Linked DNA regions of Homo sapiens: region 2 is linked to region 1. The links are contacts of gene promoters, found by promoter capture Hi-C in blood cells and fetal thymus (Javierre and others, 2016). All regions are on one chromosome and are shown on one strand. Each heading gives the region's core, a stretch centred on a gene start or on the middle of the fragment in contact. The rest is flanking DNA. Distances are from core to core; before and after follow the strand shown. Region 1 holds the start of GBP5 (guanylate binding protein 5). Region 2 overlaps GBP7 (guanylate binding protein 7).

What was found. Contacts are between HindIII fragments. The CHiCAGO score rates a contact against its expected background, and 5 or more counts as called.
Region 2: a fragment that was not itself captured here is called in contact with the fragment with the promoter of GBP5 in region 1 in 8 of 17 cell types (total CD8 T cells, activated CD4 T cells, naive CD8 T cells and 5 more); the score reaches 15.5 in total CD8 T cells.

What each region holds. Positions count from the first base shown.
Region 1 is chr1:89,269,036-89,274,474 of GRCh38, reverse strand. GBP5 (guanylate binding protein 5) reads left to right here and starts at 1,615. Exons shown (of 12, transcript NM_052942.5): 1 at 1,615-2,023; 2 at 3,613-3,720; 3 at 4,901-5,109. The coding sequence starts at 4,920. It also overlaps the pseudogene LOC100421401. The HindIII fragment of the contact is 6,725 bases long and covers 1-5,000 here.
Region 2 is chr1:89,141,031-89,146,587 of GRCh38, reverse strand. It overlaps GBP7 (guanylate binding protein 7), which reads left to right. Exons shown (of 11, transcript NM_207398.3): 9 at 4,940-5,042. The region is part of intron 1 of LOC105378842 (a long non-coding RNA gene); the gene reads right to left. Among named protein-coding and RNA genes, the nearest start is that of GBP2, 18 kb to the right of the region's middle. The HindIII fragment of the contact is 1,570 bases long and covers 2,953-4,522 here.

The DNA.
Region 1 (5,439 bases), core at 366-2,865:
TTTCCTACAGAGAACTTTCAAAAATCCCCCTTTCTGTTATTCCATATTTTGTATTCAAATTGTCTCCTTTTTCGAGCAGGGAAAATGGGGTGGGAAGAACAAAAACCCCAGGACTGAGTGAAGAAAATAAATGAGAAATCACCACAGTGAAAGTAAAAGACGAGAGTTCGAACTCAGCAAGTTCTCATCGAAGCAGCTTTCTTTTTTCTTTTCTTTTCTTTTTTTTTTTTTTTTTGAGACAGAGTCTCGCTCTGTCACCCAGGCTGAAGTGCAGTGGTGCAGTCTCGGCTCACTGCAAGCTCCGCCTCCCAGGTTCAAGCCATTCTCCTGCCTCAGCCTCCCGAGTAGCTGGGACCACAGGCGCCCGCCACCATGCCCAGGTAATTTTTTGTATATTTTTAGTAGAGACGGGGTTTCATCGTGTTAGCCAGGATGGTCTAGATCTCCTGACCTCGTCATCCACCCGCCTCGGCCACCCAACATGCTGGGATTACAGGCGTGAGCCACCGTGCCCAGTCCCTCATGGAAGCAGTTTTCTTACTAGCTCTAAAATACCTCTTCTCCCGATTTTATAATCAAGGTAATGAGAGGTGACGGCGTGCTGGCAGCCCTTGCAGCCCTCCCTCGCTCTCGGTGCCTCCTCTGCCTGGGCACCCACTCTGGCGGCACTTGAGGAGCCCTTCAGCCCTCCGCTGCACTGTGGGAGCCCCTTCCTGGGCTGGCCGAGGCCGGAGCTGGCTCCCTCAGCTTGCTGGGAGGTGTGGAGGGAGAGGCAGGGGTGGGAACTGGGGCTGCGCCCGGTGCTTGAGGGCCAGCGCGAGTTCTGGGTGGGCTTGGGCTCTGAGGGACCTGCACTCGGAGCGGCCCCAGGCAGTGAGGGGCTTAGCACCTGGGCCAGCAGCTGCTGTGCTCCACTTCTTGCAGGGCCTTAGCTGCCTCCCGGTGGGGCAGGGCTGGGGACCTGCAGCCTGCCATGCCTGAGCCTCCTCCCCTCTCCCGCTCCCCACCTCACCCCGCCATGGGTTCCTGTGCTGCCTGAGCCTCCCCAACCTGTGCTGACCCCTGCTCCACAGCACCCTGTCCCATCCATGGCCCAAGGACCGAGGAGTGCCAGTGCATGGAGCAGGACTGGCAGGCAGCTCCACCTGCCGCCCGGTGCAAGATCCACTGGGTGAAGCCAGCTGGGCTCTTGAGTCTAGTGGGAACTTGGAGAATCTTTATGTCTAGCTAAGGGATTGTAAATACACCAATCAGCACTCTGTATCTATTTAATCTGGTGGGGACTTGGAGAATCTTTATGTCTAGCTAAGGGATTGTAAATGCACCAATCAGCACTCTGTATCTACCTCAAGGTTTGTAAATGCACCAATCAGCACTCTGTATCTAGCTCAAGGTTTGTAAATAGGCCAATCCACACTCTGTATCTAGCTAATCTAGTGGGGACATGAAGAACTTTTGTGTCCAGCTCAGGGATTGTAAACACACCAATCAGCACCCTGTCAAAACAGACCAATCAGCTCTCTGTAAAATGGACCAATCGGCTCTCTGTAAAATGGACCCATCAGCAGGATGTGGGTGGGGCCAGATAAGAGAAGTAGCCAGCAGTGGCAACCCACTGAGGTCACCCTCCAGGCTGTGGAACCTTTGTTCTTTCACTCTTTGCAATAAATCTTGCTGCTGCTCACTCTTTGGGTCCACACTGCCTTTATGAGCTGTAACACTCACTGGGAATGTCTGCAGCTTCACTCCTGAAGCCAGCGAGACCACGAACCCACCAGGAGGAACAAACAACTCCAGACGCGCAGCCTTAAGAGCTGTAACACTCACCGCGAAGGTCTGCAGCTTCACTCCTGAGCCAGCCAGACCACGAACCCACCAGAAGGAAGAAACTCCAAACACATCCGAACATCAGAAGGAGCAAACTCCTGACACGCCACCTTTAAGAACCGTGACACTCAACGCTAGGGTCCGCGGCTTCATTCTTGAAGTCAGTGAGACCAAGAACCCACCAATTCCGGACACGGTAAGACTGGGGCAAGAGGTGGAAGAGATTTGCAAGATTCATTTGGTTTTAGAAACATTCTACAAAGGATAGGATGCAGCTTATCCTGATGTGGTATATCAGACCTCAGTAAAGAATAAATTGTATTCTTATCAGACAGGCAGCAGAATTCATCAAGTACCAGCTGTGTCTGCCTCTTGCTGAATTAGACATCAATGTGTGTGGTGACTAAACTAAGAGTTTGAAATGCCTTCAAATTATTTTTCTTCCTTTGCAATTTTATGACTTATTCAGGATCATAATTTCCACTTAAGTTACCTTCGTCCTTCATAAAATCTGATTAAACTGACTCGAACTTCAGCATGAAAGTTTCAAAAACTATGATAGCTATTATTTTCATGAGAAAGAACAATGAATATGATGCAATGTAAGTAGCTTGCAAACATTAAGGACAAGAAAAAAATGTTGCCCAGAGAGAAGTTTCATGAAAACAGTGATGTATTTTTAGTCATAGTCTTGTACTTTGTTTGAAAGTAGATTTCTTCCTTTAGCAATAGCCCTGACTTAATTCATGTTGGTTTCTTGGCATCTACTCACTTAACTAACCCCTTTTGTGTTGGGTTCTGCTTCTACTACTCTATTGCCTTTACTATTATGAATCACCTAATTTAACAGTTGCCCAACTGGATCCCTCAATACTGTCTGGCAACTGTTCACTCGTTGAAATTCTCTCCTTTGAATTTCTTACCATGACACATACTTCAAGCATTTTGTACTAGTTTGATTTCCATTTATATCCTTAATAAGAGCCTTTTCCTTTTCCTTGAAATTCAAACCAGAAACTATGCAAAATAAGCAAAAGCAAGCAATAACAACTACATATACAAATGCAGGCGCAAAACCCAAACTAGAATCATATGGCTGAAAACAGATGTTTTCTTTCAGAAATCCTTCCACTACCACTTCTGAGCATTTTCTCTTAGTATTTTTTTTTGGGCATTTTCCTTCTTTGCACTTTTTAAAATCTCCTGCAGCTCGCTCACTCTCTTTCATAAGCCAGCAGTTATACTGATGTTAATAAATAGTTGTTTATTTACTTTTGCTTTTTTAGAAAACAAGCTGAAAGAATTGAGTGAAATGCCAGAGAGATACAGATAGCCAGTTGTAGGGCTGGGGTTGGAAATCAAGTCTAATTTAAGGCAAGGGCAAAATGTGCATTTTGTGTGTGTATTTTGAACCATTCTTGCATTGTTTTTATTTGCAAAGGTTATAGGGCTCAAGCAGTTAGGGAGAATGCATCCCAGAACACTAAGTTATGAATAACAGAGCAACAGTTATGTTTGTGGCTTGAACACATTAAATCTGCAATAATGTTTTAGAAATTTGGCTTTACTAAAAGCATTAAAGATGCTATCCAGATGACATTGGGGACAACATGTCAAATACTATTATTAATGTAGATATACAATGCTATTGTCATTCATAAGAGAGTCTGAACACTCAGACACATTCATTCCCTCTTCCTTAGTGACATCATCCCAAATCATAAGATCTTGTAAGCTCTCAATATCTGCTTATAGATTTGGCTTATGTATCTTTTGTTTTTCTAGCTAATTGTTGTAGATCATCACTTCAAGGTGCCCATATCTTTCTAGTGGAAAAATTATTCTGGCCTCCGCTGCATACAAATCAGGCAACCAGAATTCTACATATATAAGGTACTAATACTACATTGAAAATAGATTAGAATGAGAAGAGACCTGCCATTTGAGTCTCTAAATTTGTTGCAAAATTGCCTCTTTCTGGGTCAGGCTTGCACTAGGCATTTCCTGACTCCCATGTCCTAGTGCTACACCATTTGCAAATGGATATCCTATTTTCTGCTGCCAAGCAGTTTCTGTTTTAATTTATGTCAACATAATGATTTCCAGGGCATTAGCTATGAGGAAGCAGGGAGAATGGGTCTTCATAATTGTAAAATGACAGTTTTTGAAATTTGCTAGTAAAGAGATGGAGAATCCAAACCTTTTCATTGTAAGATTTTAGTGAAAGAACTCGTCAAGCGGATAGTGAAGTTTTAGCATCCTTAGTAAATAACCACCTTTAAAATGGAAGAAAACTATCCTTTATGATAAGGCAAAGTAGAAAAGCATATTTTTATGGCATTTGCTTTTTCTCATATAGCTCAAACATTTTTTTTAACCAGAGACTCTTTAGGTTATAGGGATTGATGCTCAGAAGTTAGAAAAAAATAGGTTAAGTATTATTAAAGGAAGTTGTTTTACTCATTCAGTCAATCATAAAATAATCATGCTTTGAAGTTTTGGTTTAATAAAGCACATTAGTAACTATGTAAAAAATTTCAAGTATATCACTAAGAAGCAAACAGCTATGATTTGTTAGATAATGCTGCATAATGACTTGGTAGTATTTAATGTAATGCAGTTTGACTGGACATAGATCTAACTGAAAAAAATGAAGTTGACACAAAGTAAAAGGAACAGTGTAATATATTAATAAAGAACATCATAAAGAATTAATATAGGAACCCAGGGAGGTAAAAACTAAAAAACATAACTAAGCCAAAAACCAATGGAATAAGAGTTAGATTCAAACTAGTAGGTTAGACGCAGGAAATGGATTTTCGTATGCCTATCAAATATTTAAGAACCAGTAGAATGGCCTATAGTAGACATATAAAGGGCCTAGGACTTACTTTTGTTTTAAAATAAAGTCTCTCTATTTTACAGGACTCTTTTTATTTTAAAACTTTTTTTTTCCAGAAACTTAGGCAGTGCTGGGGAGTAGTATGTCCCCAGGTTCAGTAAGCAAAATGACTTCCTTTGCTTATTAAACAAACACCAGAAATTCCAGCCTATCCCATCTGTTCCCTTGCAGGCAAAGTAACATCCTAGACATGGCTTTAGAGATCCACATGTCAGACCCCATGTGCCTCATCGAGAACTTTAATGAGCAGCTGAAGGTTAATCAGGAAGCTTTGGAGATCCTGTCTGCCATTACGCAACCTGTAGTTGTGGTAGCGATTGTGGGCCTCTATCGCACTGGCAAATCCTACCTGATGAACAAGCTGGCTGGGAAGAACAAGGGTGAGTGGTACCAGCAAAGCTCTGCCAAACCCTTCTGTCCATTCACACAGTCACCATCCAGTACGAGGAAGCAAGGAGAGAGTAAGACATGAGGATGAATATTAAAAGCCAATGTTTAGGCTACAGCTGGTCTTTTTATCTTTTGGAAGATGAAGACCAGTTCTCTGTTCCTGACATATCACCTCTTTTTTTTTTCTTTGCCTTGATTTCTTCTTGTAAAATGTATAATATATTCTCCTTGTAAGGAGTAAGACATCAATGAAGTAATTCCCGTATACATAATTATAAACTAGCAACATTTTAGTAGCATAATATTTTTTTAATATCAAA
Region 2 (5,557 bases), core at 2,488-4,987, 130 kb after region 1:
TGTTGTGTTGCTATTGAGTTATATGAGCTCATTATATATTTTGGATATTAAGCACTTATCAGATATATGGTTTGCAAATATGTTCTATTCTGTATGTTGCCTTTTCTTTTTTCCTTTCTTTGTTTTTTCATTGAGTGGTAACTTAGTTTGATGTAGTCCCACTAGTTTCTTTTAGCACTTGTTTCCTGTGCTCTTGGTGTGAAATTCAAAAATATCATTGCCAAGACCAGTGTCAAGGAGTATTTCCTGGGTTTTCTCTTAGGAGTTTTACAGTCTCTGGTCTTATGTTCAAATCTTTAACCAATTTTTAGTTGACATTTGTGTGTAGTACAAGGGTCCAGTTTTCCCACCACCATTCCACCATTTATTAAAGATACTATCTTTTTCTCATGGTGTACTCTTGACACATTTTTTTGAAAAGTCTTTGACTGTAAATGTGTGGGTTTGTTTCCTGGCTCTCTATTCTGTTCCATGCAGTTAGATGTCTCTTTATGCCAGCATTACACTACTTGATACCTTTGTAGTAGATTTTGAAGTCAGATAGTATGATGCCTTTGGCTCTGTTTTTCTTGTTTTGGCTATTTGGGGTCTTTTATGGTTCCATATGAATTTTATAATTGGTTTTCTTACTGCTGTGAAAAAACACCATTGGAATTTTGATAGAAATTGTGTAAACCTGTAGATTTTTTTTAGATAGTATGAACATTTTAACAATATTAATTTTTCCAGTCAATGTACATGGAATATCTCTCCATTTATTTTATGTCTTCTTCAGTTAATTTCATCAGCATTTTATGATTGACAGAGTACAAATCTTTTACCTCTTTGGTTACATTTATTTCTAAGCATTTTATAATTTTGATGCTATTATAAATGTGATTTTCTTATTTTTTCATATAGTTTGTTCTTAGTGCATAGAAATGTAGCTGAATTTGTATGCTAATTTTGTATCCTCCAACTTTGCTGAATTTATTAGTTTAACAGCTATTGGTGGACTTCTGGTTGTATTTCCAAAGGAACTAAAGTCACTATCTCAAAGAGATATTTTCACTCCCATGTTCATTGCAGCATAATTTGCAATAGCCAAGACATGAAAACAACCTGTGTCCATCCACAAATGAGCAAGTGAAGAAAATGTGATATATATGCATATCTATATGTAAATATAGATATATAAAATAAAGTATTATTGAATCCTAAAAAGAAAGAAATCCTACCACTGGCGACAACATGAATGAACCTGGAGGACATTATGCTTAGTGAAATCAGCCATTCTTAGAAAGACAAATACTGCATGACGCACCTTTATGTGAAATTATTTAAAAAGAGCGAAAGTCAGCTAGGCACAGTGGCTCACACCTCTAATCCCAGCACTTTGGGAGGCTGAGGCAGGTGGATCACAAGGTCAGGAGATCAAGTCCATCCTGGCCAACATGGTGAAACCCTGTCTCTACTAAAAATACAAAAATTAGCCTGGCATGGTGGTGCATGCCTGTAGTCCCAGCTACTCTGGAGGCTGAGGCAGGAGAATTACTTGAACCTGGGAGGCAGAGGTTGCAGTGAACCGAGATCGCACCACTGCACTCCACCTTGGTGACAGAGCGAGACTCCGTCTCAAAAAAAAAAAAAAAAAAAGAGTGAAAGTCACATTAACAGAGAGTAGAATGGGTGGTTACCAGACAGAGAGGGGTAGGAGGAAAGGGGAAATAGTGATCAGTAGGTACAAACATTCAGTTATAAGATGAGTAAGTTCTGGATGCCTAGTGTATAGCATGGTGACTATAGTTAAAACAATGTACTTTATACTAGAAATTTGCTAAGAGAGTAGGTCCCTTGTGTTCCCACCACACACACACAAAAAAAAGATAACTGCATGAGGTGCAGATATATTAGCTTGATTATAATAATCATTTCACAATGTATACATGTATCAAAATATCATGCTGTTCCTCTTAAACATAATTTTTACTTATCAATCAACTTCAAAAAACTTGTAAAACAAAATTAGAAATTAGCCTATATTATTAAAAAGGGAAAAATAGCACATACTGGTGAGGTTGTAGAGAAAAGGGAACGCTTATACACTGCTAGTGGGATTGCAAATTGTAAATTCCTCTGTGGGAAGCAGTTTGGAGATTTCTTAAAGAACTAAAAATAGAATTATTATTATTATTCAACCCAGCAATCCCATTACTAGGTATACACCCAAAGGAAAATAAAACATTCTACCAAAAAGACACCCACACTCATATGTTTATCACAGCACTATTCACAATAGCAAAGACACAGAATCAACCTATGCGCCCATCAATAGTAGACTGGATTTTTACAATGTGGTGCATATACACCTTGAGACACTATGCAGCCATAAAAAGAATGAAATCATGTCGTTTGCAGAAAAATGGATGCATCTGGAGGCCATTATCCTAAGTGAATTAATGCAGAAACGGAAAACCAAATACTCCATGTTCTCACTTGTAAGTGGGAGCTAAACAATGAATACACATGTACATAAAGACGGGAACAATATACACTGGGGAATACAAGAGGGAGGAGGCAGGGAGGGAAGTAGGGTTGAAAAACGACCTTTGGGGTTCTACATTCACTATCTGGGTGACTGTTTTGACTGAAGCCCAAACCTCAGTATCACGCAATATAGTCATGTAACAAACCTGCATGCGAACCCCATTGATCAAGTTGGGCTATTTGTCTCCACTCAAACCTCATATTGAATTGTAATCCCCAGTGCTGGAGGTGGGGCCTCGTGGGAGGTGTTTGGATCATGGGGGAAGATCCTTTATGGCTTGCTGCTGTCTGTGTGATAGTGAGTTCTCTGGAGGTCTGGTCATTTAAAAGTATGTGGCACCTCCACTCTCTCTCACTCTCTCTTGCTCCTGCTTTTGTCATGTGACATGCAAGCTCCTGCTTCACATTCCACCAGGAGTAAAAGCTTCCTGAAGCCTTACCAGAAGGCATGTTTCCTGTAAAGCCTGCAGAACTATGAGCCCATTAAACCTCTTTGCTTTATAAATTACCCCGAACTTAAAATAAAAGTTAAATAAAAAAAATTAAATGTAGATCCTAACTCTATACCTAAATCATTATTGCTCACTCACCCTAAAACAGTAGTGTCCAAAAAACTATTTTAAATTCAGATCAGATAAAAATAAATAGCTACTTGTAATCCTCCTTGGAAAGATACATATATCAAATCTGAGTATGATTTTTTACTTCATAAGTCACTACCAGTTAAACAGAAAAAAGTGCTTAATTCTGAACTGCAAGGTCCTTTGCATTCTCAGAACAAAGCCTAGTACAGGTCAGGTAATTTCACTTATCTGAGTTTCAATTTCCTCACAAAATGAAAAGAAGGTGACTGTTTAAGAAATCAAAATTCCAAGTGTTGACAAGAATATGAAGCAACTGGAATTCTCACACATTGCTAATGAGGTATAAATCAGAACATCAATTTGGAAAACTGTTTGGTTTTAATTGCTAAAATTGAAAAACAAATACCAAATGACCCAGCAAATCCATTCCTAGATATATACATTCACTTAAAAGACTGGGACAGAAATGGTCACAACAGTATCATTCACAATAGCACCAAACTGAAATTTTACCCTAATGTCCATCAACAATAGAACAAGTAAACTAGTGTATTCACATAATGGCGTACTATATCACAATGAAAGTGAATAAGCTACAATCACACAATAAGAAAAAAAATTACCCAGTCTCAGGTATTTGTAGCAATGCAAGAATGTCCTAATACACCCATGAATCTAAATTTTTTTTGAAAGAAGGGAACAAGGAAAATAACCGTCAAAAAATGCCTAGGTCCTTCCTTCTGTGATGTGCCCCACACACCCAAATTTCAGTCACTAATCACTTATTGGCTGAGGTATTTATGCCTCTTTTTCCTTCCCATGTGTGACTGTTAAGTCTATGCAGTGTTGTATTTTCCTTGATTGGTAATTTCCCATTTTGGACAGCCATGTTACTCCCTTAAAGTTTCAAATTCTTAAAGTTTCTCAGGCCAGGTACAGTGGCTCACACCTATAATCCCAACGCTTTGGAAGGCCAAGGTAGGAGGATTGCTTAAGACCAGGAGATTGAAACCATCCTGAGCAACATGACAGGACTTCCATCTCTACAAAAGTAAAAAATAAAATTAGCCAGCTGCGGTGGCACACATCTGTAGTCCTGGCTATGCAGGAGGCTGAGGCAGCAGCATTCAGCCCGGGAGTTCAAGGTTGAAGTGATAATACCATTGAACTTGTGCTTGGGTGACAGAGTGAGACTGTCTCAAAAGAGAAAAAAAAGTTTCTCAACTGTTCAATTTTCCATTATATTCACCACTACTCCTAAATAGACTAAACAGTTACCTGTTCGGTCTTTTTAAGGTTTTAACTTTTTAAATTAAATTTGAATACATTGTTTACTTTTAATGAACTATTATCAACATTCTTAACAGTGATCAAAAGTAAATAAATAAATAAATAATTAGCCTAGAAAAGCTTCCAGTGAGGTAAGAGCTATTAGGTAAAGTATCAATAGATGTTATCCTAATTTGAAAAGGGTAGGCAGGCCTTCAGGCAAAAGAAAAAAGAAAGCAAATAATGCAAACTATGGAGGATGTGTGTTTGTAGAACTGCATAGAAATCTGGTTGTCTGCACCGGGGGTGGGTGGTGAGCAGCATCCCTGGGAGAAGAGGCTGGACAGGCAGGAGGGAGGCTGCTACACAGGGTTTTCATGTCTCAACAAAGAGCTTGGACTTTTTATTGTGGCTGTGGAAGGAAAGAAACCACTGTGGAATCTTAAGAATAATGTGAAGTTTACAAGGTTAGATTTGTGGCTTTGTTGAACAATAATTTCCTCATCACAAGACAAGATTTCTGCTGCCTGACAGGTCTTTGCTCCTTCTTGGTTCTTCAGGCAGACGAGGTCCTCCAGAGCTTCCTGCAGTCACAGGTGGTTATAGAGGAATCCATCCTGCAGTCAGACAAAGCCCTCACTGCTGGAGAGAAGGCCATAGCAGGTACAGGGGCAGGGCTCAGCTCTCAGGCAAATGGGTAGGTTCTTGCAACACTCTCTTGATGTTCAGAAAAAAGGATTTTCCTTATACCAGGAGCTTTCTTCTCATAGGGAACACATGCTCTGCTAAAACTGAAAATAACAAGGGGAGTTGGGATTGAACATCCAGCCACTTAGTTTCTTCCCACAACATTCTTAAACATGCTCTTGCTGACATGGCTAGTGACAGAATTCAGAGATTCTCAATTCCCCACCTTGGTGCTTTTTTCAAAGTCATTTTGGCCTCTGAACTCAGGAGAGTAGAACTCAGACAAGACTGTTACTTTCTTTTTTTTTTTTTCTTTCCAACTTTTATTTTAGGTCCAGAGGGTACACAAATAGGTTTGTTACATGGGTAAATTGTGTCATGGGAATTTGTTGTACAGATTATTTCATCACCCAGATAATGAGCATAGTACCCAATAGGTAGTTTTTCAATCTTTACCCTCTTCCCATCCTCCACCCTCAAGTAGGTCCTGG